2 separate regions of the Homo sapiens genome follow, and region 2 is linked to region 1. The links are contacts of gene promoters, found by promoter capture Hi-C in blood cells and fetal thymus (Javierre and others, 2016). All regions are on one chromosome and are shown on one strand. Each heading gives the region's core, a stretch centred on a gene start or on the middle of the fragment in contact. The rest is flanking DNA. Distances are from core to core; before and after follow the strand shown.

Region 1 (4,892 bases), core at 1,603-4,102:
TCCCCTCCCCTCCTCTCCCTTCCCCTCCCCCTCCCCTCCCTTCCCTTCCCCTCCCCTCTCCTCCCCCTTCGCCTCCCCTCCCCTCCCTTCCCTTCCCCTCCCCTCCCTTCCCCTCCCCCTCCCCTTTCCTCCACTCCCTTCCCCTCCCCTCTCCTCCCCCCTTCCCCTCCCCTTCCCTTCCCTTCTTTCCTCCTATCCCCTCCTCCCCTCCCCTCCCTTCCCCTCCCCCCTCCCCTTTCCTCCGCTCCCTTCCCCTCCCCTCTCCTCCCCCCTTCCCCTCCCCTTCCCTTCCCTTCTTTCCTCCCATCCCCTCCTCCCCTCCCCTCCCTTCCCCTCCCCTCCCTTCCCCTCCCCTCCCCTCCTTTCCCTTCCCCTCCCCTCCTCTCCCTTCCCCTCCCCTCCTCTCCCTTCCCCTCCCTTCCCCTCCATTCCCCTCCCTTCCCCTCCATTCCCCTCCCTTCCCCTCCCCTCCTCTCCCTTCCCCTCCCTTCCCCTCCATTCCCCTCCCTTCCCCTCCCCTCCCCTTCTTTTGAGATGGAGTCTTCCTCTTGTCATCCAGGCTGGAGTGCAATGGCGCAATCTTGGCTCATTGCGACCTCCACCTCCCGGGTTCAAGCAATTCTCCTGCCTCAGCCTCCTGAATAGCTGGGATTACAGGTGCGCACCACCACGCCCAGCTAATTTTTGTATTTTTAGTAAAGACAGGGTTTCACCATGTTGGCCACAATTGTCTCAAACTCCTGACCTCAGGTGATCCACCCGCCTCGGCTTCCCAAAGTGCTGGGATTACAGGCATGAGCCACTGTACCCGGCCTAAATCACAGACTTTTATGTCTCACGGTTCTGGAGGCTGAGAGTCCAAGATCAATGAGTGGGAGGTTCAGTGTCTAGTGAGGACCCGCTTGCTGGTTCACAGGTGGTTCCTTCTGGCTGTGTCCTCACATGGTGGAAGGGGTGAGAGAGCTCTCTGGGGCCTGTCTTCTAAGAGCACAAATCCCACTCATGACCTAACCACCTCCTAAAAGCACCACCTCTAATACTCTTGCAGTGGGAACTGAGTTTGAACTTGAGTTTTGGAAGGACAGAAACATGGAAGGCATAGCAACCCTCTTACACAGCCCGGCCCCTCTGAAGCCTGCCTGGGTTCACAGAATGTTCCGTCTTCCTCAGGCCCCTGGTGTGTTGGCTTTCTCCTTTGTTGATAGCTGATGTTGAGCAATGCAAGATTTCTGTTCTGATTATCTGACCCTGGATATCCAGTTTGGGGACTTGTGACATATTTGGGACGTCAGAAGCACGTACCTCTCACATAGAGCATGGCATACTTAATAAACAATAAATTATAATAAAAAATGAATAATGCATTATAAATTATCATTACTTATTTATTTATTTATTGGAGACAGAGTCTCGCTCTGTTGCCCAGGATGGAGTGCAGTGGCGCCATCTTCGCTCACTGCAACCTCTGCCTCCTGGGTTCAAGTGATTCTCGGGCCTGCCTCAGCCTCCTGAGTAGCTGGGACTATAGGCAACCACCTCCACACCCGGCTAGTTTTTTGTCTTTTTAGTAGAGACGGGGTTTCACCATGCTGGCCAGGCTGGTCTTTTTTTTGTTTTGTTTTGACATGGAGTCTCGCTCTGTCAACCAGGCTGGAGTGCAGTGGCACGGTCTCACTGCAAGCCCCACCTCCCAGGTTCACGCCATTCTCCTGCCACAGCCTCCCGAGTAGCTGGTAGCTGGGACTACAGGTGCCCACCACCACGCCCGGCTGATTATTTTTTGTATTTTAGTAAAGACGGGGTTTCATCGTGTTAGCCAGGATGGTCTCGATCTCCTGACCTCATCATCCGCACATCTCGGCCTCCCAAAGTGCTGGGATTACAGGCATGAGCCACCGGGCCCGGCCCCAGGCTGGTCTTGAACTCCTGACCTTGTGATCTGCCCGCCTTGGCCCTCCAAAGTGCTGGCATTACAGACGTGAGCCACCGCACCTGGCCTCATTTATTATTTTGTAATCACATTATAAATTGTCATTTATTATTTCATAATTACATTATAAATGATCATTTCAGAATTACATTATATATTTTCATTTATTTCATAATTACACTATAGATTATCATTTATTATTCCAAAATTACATTATAAATTATGATTATATTATACAATAGCATTTGCTTCATAATTACATTAGATTATCATTTATTTTTAAATTACATTATATTTATTTCATAATTACATTATAAATTATCTTATAATTAGAAATGATCATTTATTTCATAATTGCAATATAAATTATTATTAATTTCATAATACCATTGTAAGTTATCATTTATTATTTCATAATTACATTATGTAATGGTATGCGTTAATAATTATTAATATACAATTAATAATTATTAACCATTCAATTAATAGTTAATTAACTAGCAATTTATATGTAATTCTATAATTACGTCATAGAATATGATATCTAATTTATACATAAATTATATTATTCAAGTATATTACCCATAATTTGCAAGTATAGTATAGAATCCCGTTATAGGATCCTATTACATTTTAGAATTTTGTTATATATATTTGACTCTACAATTGGAATTTAGACCCCACACCGGCCCCCCTCCTGTTTGGCTTAAGGGCTATGACCACAGACCCTGGCCCAAGTACCTCCCCTGGTTACCCGCAGGCAGGTGGCACCATGGGGGCGGGGCGGACTCGCGCACGCGCAGTGCAAAAGGTCGGGCTCCCGGAAGTCCCTCCTCCCGGGGGCGGAGCCAGGGCAAGAAGGAGAAACCCGGTGCTGCCGCGCGGCCTCTTCCGCGAGCCCGCGCGCCGGAAGTGGAAATGCGTCATAGAGGGCGGGCGGCGACGGCGGTGGCGGCGTCGGAGGCGCCTCCGGGGGACGGTGGCGGCTCCCGGCGGTGAGGCCGCGCCTGTCCGGGGATCGTCGAGGGACGGCGGGAGCTTGGGCCAGCGGCGGCGGCGGCCTGGGACGCAGGCGGAGCCCCGCGCAGGTGAGTGCCGCCCCCGTGCCTCCCGGGCCTGGCTGCAGCCGGCGAACGCTTCGCTCCTAGGGCCGGGCCCGGGGGGCCGGGGCTTGGGAGGCGGCGCCTAGGGGCCTCGGAGGTGACGGGGCTGGGGTTGGGGGGCGTGGGGTGCCACCGGGGGGCTGGGAGCGCCTGAAACTGTACGGGGGAATCGGGGGCTGGGGAGGTCTGCGGTCGGGGTCCGGGGGTCCCTGGAAGTAGGGGTAGGGGCTGGAGCGGTTCCTGGGACTGCACCGAAGGAGCTGAGGCCTGGAGCGGTGTCGGAGGGCTGGGAGCTCGGGGGATCGGATGGGCGGGAGACTAGGAGGCCTGGGACTAGGGGACGTGGCGCTGCGGTCGCTCCTAGGTCTACAGTGGGAAGCAAGGGGCTGTCCGGGGTTTTCGGAGGCTGGGGCGGTGCTGTGTAGGTTGGGGTATTGGGGCTCATCCAGGAGGGTGGTGGGGAGCGGGGAACTGAGGAGCTGAGGGTACCGAGTGGCCAAGGGCCTGAGAATGTGTGGGGCCCTGCCAGGGGTGCCAGCGGCAGCCTGAGGCCATGCTGGGGGGCTGCGGTAGGTGGGAATACCAGGGGCAATGCCGCGTACTGGGGATTGGGCAGCCAGGTGTACCGGGGTGGTCGGAGGGCGCTGGAGGCCAGAGTGGGGAGGGTTCCTCGGTGGTGAAGTTGCTGGGGCCGCTTGGGTTCTGGGGGAGGGTTCACTGGTCTCTGTCCAGACTGGAGCCCCTCCCTGGTGCCCCACTGACCTTTTCTGGTCGCTTCTCCACCCTCCCTCCCTTCTTTCGCACCTCCCACCTCGGGCTTGGGCGAGGAGGCCGTCTCCTGGGCCTGGCAGGAAGCCTCCAGGTTGATGGGGTGGGCGGCCGGGCCGGAGGCGGTCACCTGAGATGGTTGGGTTTCTGCGAGTGAAGCTTCCTCTACTTGGACTTGGCCGTCAGGAAGTGGCTGCCCGTCAGCTCAGCAGGGAAGAGGTGGGTTAATGAAGGTGGGCGGAGAAAGAAGGCGCAGACGGGGGACTCCGGCCCCTAACTTGTGGAAAGTTCGTTGTACTTTTTGGCTTTGAGTGGGTTAAAGCTGGGATACGTTTGGCCTTCGTGGAGATTACTAGGGTTCATGGTTCTGGATTGTTGTTGCAGCCCGAGACTTCCTGTTTTATCAGGGCAAGTACAGGGCCGCCGCCCCCTCCACAAAACCTTTCCAGATGCCTGCAGCTGTGCTCTCCCTGGCCCCTTCCCTTCCCCAGTGTCTCTCTGCCCCTTCCCGTGGAGCTAGGCGTTTGTAGCGTCCCCGTTCCTACTTGACCTGTGTGAGGGGCCTGGTCGTGCTCAGCTTCCTATTCTGCAGGCCTTGGGAGCTGCTGGCTGCTGGATGTAGGGTGTCGGGCAGTGCTGACCGAGGCTTTGACACTAACCTGTTCTTTATCAGCTCGGCTCTTTCCCCTTTGGTGTACTCTTAATGATTTCAAAAAGTAAAGAACTCCGTTGAGATGGCTGTTAACAAAGTGGAAACCGGTCTCTGACACGGCAGAGAGACACTGCTGTTTCTCTTCTCCGGGTCCAGAAAGTGCCTGCTGGCTTGGCCCCTCCTCATTGGCGGGGGAGGTGGGGGGTGCTGGTGCTGACTGTCTGCGTCTTATGTTTCAGGCCCAAGGTCCCGGAGGCTATGGCAGCGGCTACCATCGTGCACGACACGTCTGAGGCCGTGGAGCTCTGCCCTGCTTACGGCTTGTACCTGAAGCCCATCACCAAGATGACCATCAGCGTGGCACTCCCGCAGCTGAAGCAGCCGGGGAAGTCCATCTCCAACTGGGAGGTGATGGAGAGGCTGAAGGGCATGGTGCAGA
Region 2 (4,892 bases), core at 1,461-3,960, 930 kb after region 1:
AAGTGCTCAATAAATACTAAATGTGATTTTTGTGATGTGCGATACATTTCAATGCTTCACTTTAAAAATTGGTCGAATTACACTTGTGATTATTTTACTATTAAAAACAAAATGTGCCGGGCGCAGTGGCTCACACCTGTAATCCCAACACTCTGGGAGGCCAAGGTGGGGGGATCACTTGAGGCCAAGGTTCAAGAGCAGCCTAGCCAATATGGTGAGACCCTGTCTCTACTAAAAATACCAAAATTAGCCGGGCATGGTGGCGTGCACTTGTAGTCCCAGCTACTTGGTAGGCTGAGGCAGGAGAATCGCTTGAACCCAGGACACGGAGGTTGCAGTGAGCTGAAATCATACCACTGCCCTCCAGCCTGGGCAACAAAGCAAGACTGCATCTCAAAAACAAAAGCTAAAACAAAACAAAAGAAAACAAAAAACCCCACAAAATGCGATTATTATTATTACACAGAAGTTTGCTCATTGTTAAGCCTTCTCATACTCAATATTGGATATTTTCTCCACCGTAATAACACCAGAAACCTATTATCCACTGTTTCAATAAGGAAATTAAATCACTTAGAAGTGTTTCGTTTTCAAAAATCTACTGACGCGTTTCTTAAGTGTGTGTAGGACATAATGATTTTCTCCTAAAATGTACAGCATGGGAAAGAGGCCGGGGGAAGGATAATTTTTTAGTGAAGAAAGCTGACAAACACCATCTCGACCAGATAACTGAGGTCAACATGCACTGTGAGAAGTCTTGTGGTTGTGAGAGTGTGTACCCTTGTTAGGATATGACGAGAAGGGCCTGTCCAACTTGTGGTCGTTCCCCCAAAAAACCCACAACCCGCATCTTTTTTTTTTTTTTTTTTTTTTTTTGAGATGGAGTCTCACTCTGTCGCCCAGGCTGGAGTGCAGTGGCATGATCTCGGCTCACTGCAACCTCTGCCTCCTGTGTTCAAGCGATTGTCCTGCCTCAGCCTCCCGAGTAGCTGGGATTACAGGTGGGCACCACCATACCTGGCTAATTTTTGTATTTTTAGTACAGATGGGGTTTCACCATGTTTGTCAGACTGGTCTCGATCTCCTGACTTCGTGATCTGCCCGCCTCGGCCTCCCAAAGTGCTGGGATTATAAGGGTCAGCCCCCACGCCCGGCCCCCAAACCCCATCTAATCATGAAGAAAACATCAGAAAAGGCCAGGGGCGGTGGCTCACTCCTGTAATAATTAAAAAATTAAAATTAAAAAAATCAGCTGTGGGCATGGTGGCGGGCACCTGTAGTCCCAGCTACTCAGGAGGCTGAGGCAGGAGAATGGCGTGAACGCGGGAGGCAGAGGTTGCAGTCAGCCGAGACTGCGCCACTGCACTCCAACCTAGGCGACAGAGTGAGACTCCATCTCAAAGAAAAAGAAAGAAAACATGAGAAAAATCCCAATAAAAGGACTTCCGTCAAAAGGCTTGCCCAGTGCTTTTCAAAGCTGTCCAGGTCATTCATCTGAATCAAGAAACGTCTGGAAAACTGTCCCAGCCAAGAGGGAACCCAGGTAGAAGTAATAACTAAACACCCTGTGGAACTGTGGGGCCTGTGAAAGGAAACTAACCCGGGCCCCGACAAGCTGGGAAGTGCCCAGGGCAAATCGGCCTCTCATTTTATTCAAGGTCACCCCTCTGCTTACTGAGATAGACGCATATTCTAATTGCCTCCTTTGGAGAGGCTAATCAGAAACTCAAAAGAAGCAACCATATGTTTCCCACCTACCTGTGACCTGGAAGCTCCCTCTCTGCTTCCAGTTGTCCCCGCCTTTCTGGAAGGAACCAATGGACTTCTTACATATATTGATTGATGGCTCATGTGTGCCTAAAATGTATAAAACCAAGCTGTGCCCCGACCACCTAGGGCACATGTCATCAGGACCCCATGAGGCTGTGTCACAGGTGCGCATCCTTAACTTTGGCAAATAAACTTCCTAAAATGATTGACAATTGTCTTCTAATTTTCTTGACTGACAGACCCTGGATGGGATCCTAAACATTAGAAAAAAACTAAAGAAATCTGAATAGGGTATGGGCTGGTTAATAGTAATGTATCAAGAGTGGTTGGTTAATTGCCACAAATGCACCGTACTAATTGAAGATGTTTATGACGGGGGTATAAAAGAGCTCCTTGTGGTATGTTTGAAACTTTTCTGCAAATCTGAAATCATTCTGAAACAAAAAATGTAACTTAAATCGACATTAAATGTCAAATTGCACTCTGTTAAAGAATCAAGATTAAGATTCAAGTTCCTCTCAATAAACTACAGATTAAAAACCCCTCAAAGGGCCGGGCACAGTGGTTCATGCCCTGTAATCCCAGCACTTTGGGAGGCTGAGGCAGGTGGATCACCTGAGGTCAGGAGTTTGAGACCAGCCTGGCCAACAAGGTGAAACCCCATCTCTACTAAAAATACAAAAATTAGCCATGTGTGGTGGTGTGTACCTGTAGTCCCAGCTACTCGGGAGGCTGAGGCAGGAGAATCGCTTGAATCCGGAGGTGGAGATTGTAGTCAGCTGAGATCGTGCCGTTGTACTCCAGCCTAGAGACAAAGCAAGACTCTGTGTCAAAACAAAAACAAAAACAAAAAACAAACAAACAAAAACCCTCCAACGATCTCCTCAATCTCTTCTAACTCTATGCATGAGAATCTGTAAATATTATAGCAGCAGGCAGCATTACAGAGCCCCAAAAGACCTATGTTCGTTCAACATGCCCTGATTCACTATTTCGCCCAAGGAGACTCTGATAGCAGAGGCGACATGTCAGTTCATCTTTTATTCAATGCAGAAGTGTCCCAGATTGATTCTGTCTTCAGAAACTGTGCTGACTGCAATACTCTAAAAACTGAGCCTATACCTGGGTAAGCTGGTTTTCTGTGAAACAAGTTTATAGGAGAAGCATCACAGATCACCCAGTGTTTAAAATATCACTGCATTCAAATATCATTATTTAAAAGAAATGAATACAATCATCATAATAAAAATGCAATCTTTCCAGCATGAGTTTCTGGGGAATCTGCATATTTTTGATCCTCTTGGGTCCTGTGTCATCCTCCCTGACACGGAGATAACATTGTAAACGTGAGGTTTTTGAAATTACGTAAGTGATATTCTGTGAAATATCAACCATAATGATTGTATGCAGTAAGTGTTCAATAAATACTAAATGTGATTTTTGTGATGTGCGATACATGTCAACGCTTCACTTTAAAATTGGTGGAATTACTCTAATAATTATTTTCCCATGAAAAATGTGGTATTTAGCACTTTTATTGGCATCTTACACACAGTGTGTCTGTTATTCCCCCAGACATTGTAGGTTAGTCTTCGCTTCCCTCCCATTTCCTCTCCTCTCCTCCCCTTTCCTTTTTCCTCACTCTCTTCCTCCCTTCCTCTCTCTCTCTCACCCTCTCTTTCCTTCTTTCTTCCCTCCCTCCCTCCCTTCCTTCCTTCTCGACAGGGTCTTGCTCTATCACCCAGGCTGGAGTGCAGTGGCACACTCACACCTTACTGCAGCCTCAAACCCCTGGGGTCAGTTTGTCTTTCCATCTCGGCCTCCTGAGTGGCTGGAACTATAGACAAGCACTCACCATACTCAGCTAAATTTTTTTATTTTTTGTAGAGCTGGGGGTTCTCACTATGTTGCCCAGGCTGGTCTTGAACTCCTGGGCTCAAGCAATCTTCCCACCTTGGCCTCCCAAAGCACTGGGGTTATAGGCATGAGCCACTGCACCCAGCCTGGGTGATAGAGTTATTTTTTTCTTATATTTCATCACATATCCATGCCTGGGTTACCTTCCATAGTGTTATTTTACCACAACGACAACAAAATTCCTTTAAAAATTTTTTTCTAGAAATCCATAAATACATATGTCAACAAAGTTAAGCTGTTGAGTTAAGCCTAGTTAGGTGAAGGTTTGCCTTAGAGGTAGTGTGTTTAGACTTGACTTGGGAAAAATAGACACATATTGGAGGAATCCTCTGGAATTTAAGGGCACGGAAGAATGTTGGTGATATGGTTTGACTGTCCCCACCCAAATCTCATCTGAATTGTAGCTCCCGTATTTCCCACGTGGTGTGGGAGGGACCAGGTGGGAGATAACTGAATCATGAGGGCGGTTTCCCCGATACTGCTCTTGTGGTAGTGAATGAGTCTCAAGAGAACTGATGGTTTTATAAGGGGAAACCCCCTTCACTTGGCTCTCATTTTCTCTTGCCTCCACCATGTAAGATGTGCCTTTCGCCTTCCACCATGACTGTGAGGCCTCCCCGTCACGTGGAACTGCGAGTCCATTAAACCTCTTTTCATGATCAATTATCGGGTCTCCTCAGGTATGTCTTTATCAGCAGAGTGTGAACACAGTTGGTTTCCTGGTAATTTGCAGTGATAGCCAAAGGGTCTGTGCAGTGCATAGACACATATTTCTAGGGCAAGAGGGCAGGGGCTGTGCACACACAGATGGGTGTAGCAGGAAGAAGGTGGTGCAGGCAAGCTGAACAGTGAAAGAGGATTTAGTGCAGGGACTCTTTACTGAAGTCTAGCCAGAATGTTAGGGAAAGCATTCAGAGATGGTGCAGAACCTGCAGGCTGGGAAACAGGAGCGCTCACCCCCAACTCGAGAATGATGGCAAAGGAAAGAGAGAGAGGCTAGAACCCAGCGAGGGAGAACTCAATGAACAACGCCACCTGACAGGTGCTAGGACACTGGATTAGAGGAGAAAGCCAATGTCAGATGGAACCCAGGGCTAAATCCCTCCAACTTTACTCTCCTCCTGTCTCCAACCTCAGTGGCAATTCCCCAGGGTCAGAACCAAAAATGGCAGCCAGAAGGCAAGAGAACCCTATGGATGTAGTAT

Evidence for each region. The method cuts DNA at HindIII sites, captures the fragments that hold promoters and counts their contacts. A CHiCAGO score of 5 or more calls a contact.
Region 2: a fragment that was not itself captured here is called in contact with the fragment with the promoter of AKAP17A in region 1 in 2 of 17 cell types (naive B cells and total B cells); the score reaches 7.2 in naive B cells.

What each region holds. Positions count from the first base shown.
Region 1 is chrX:1,588,752-1,593,643 of GRCh38, forward strand. AKAP17A (A-kinase anchoring protein 17A) reads left to right here and starts at 2,853. Exons shown (of 5, transcript NM_005088.3): 1 at 2,853-3,018; 2 at 4,693-4,892. The coding sequence starts at 4,712. The HindIII fragment of the contact is 17,990 bases long and covers 1-3,958 here.
Region 2 is chrX:2,522,375-2,527,266 of GRCh38, forward strand. No RefSeq gene overlaps it. Among named protein-coding and RNA genes, the nearest start is that of ZBED1, 24 kb to the left of the region's middle. The HindIII fragment of the contact is 8,308 bases long and covers 1-4,892 here.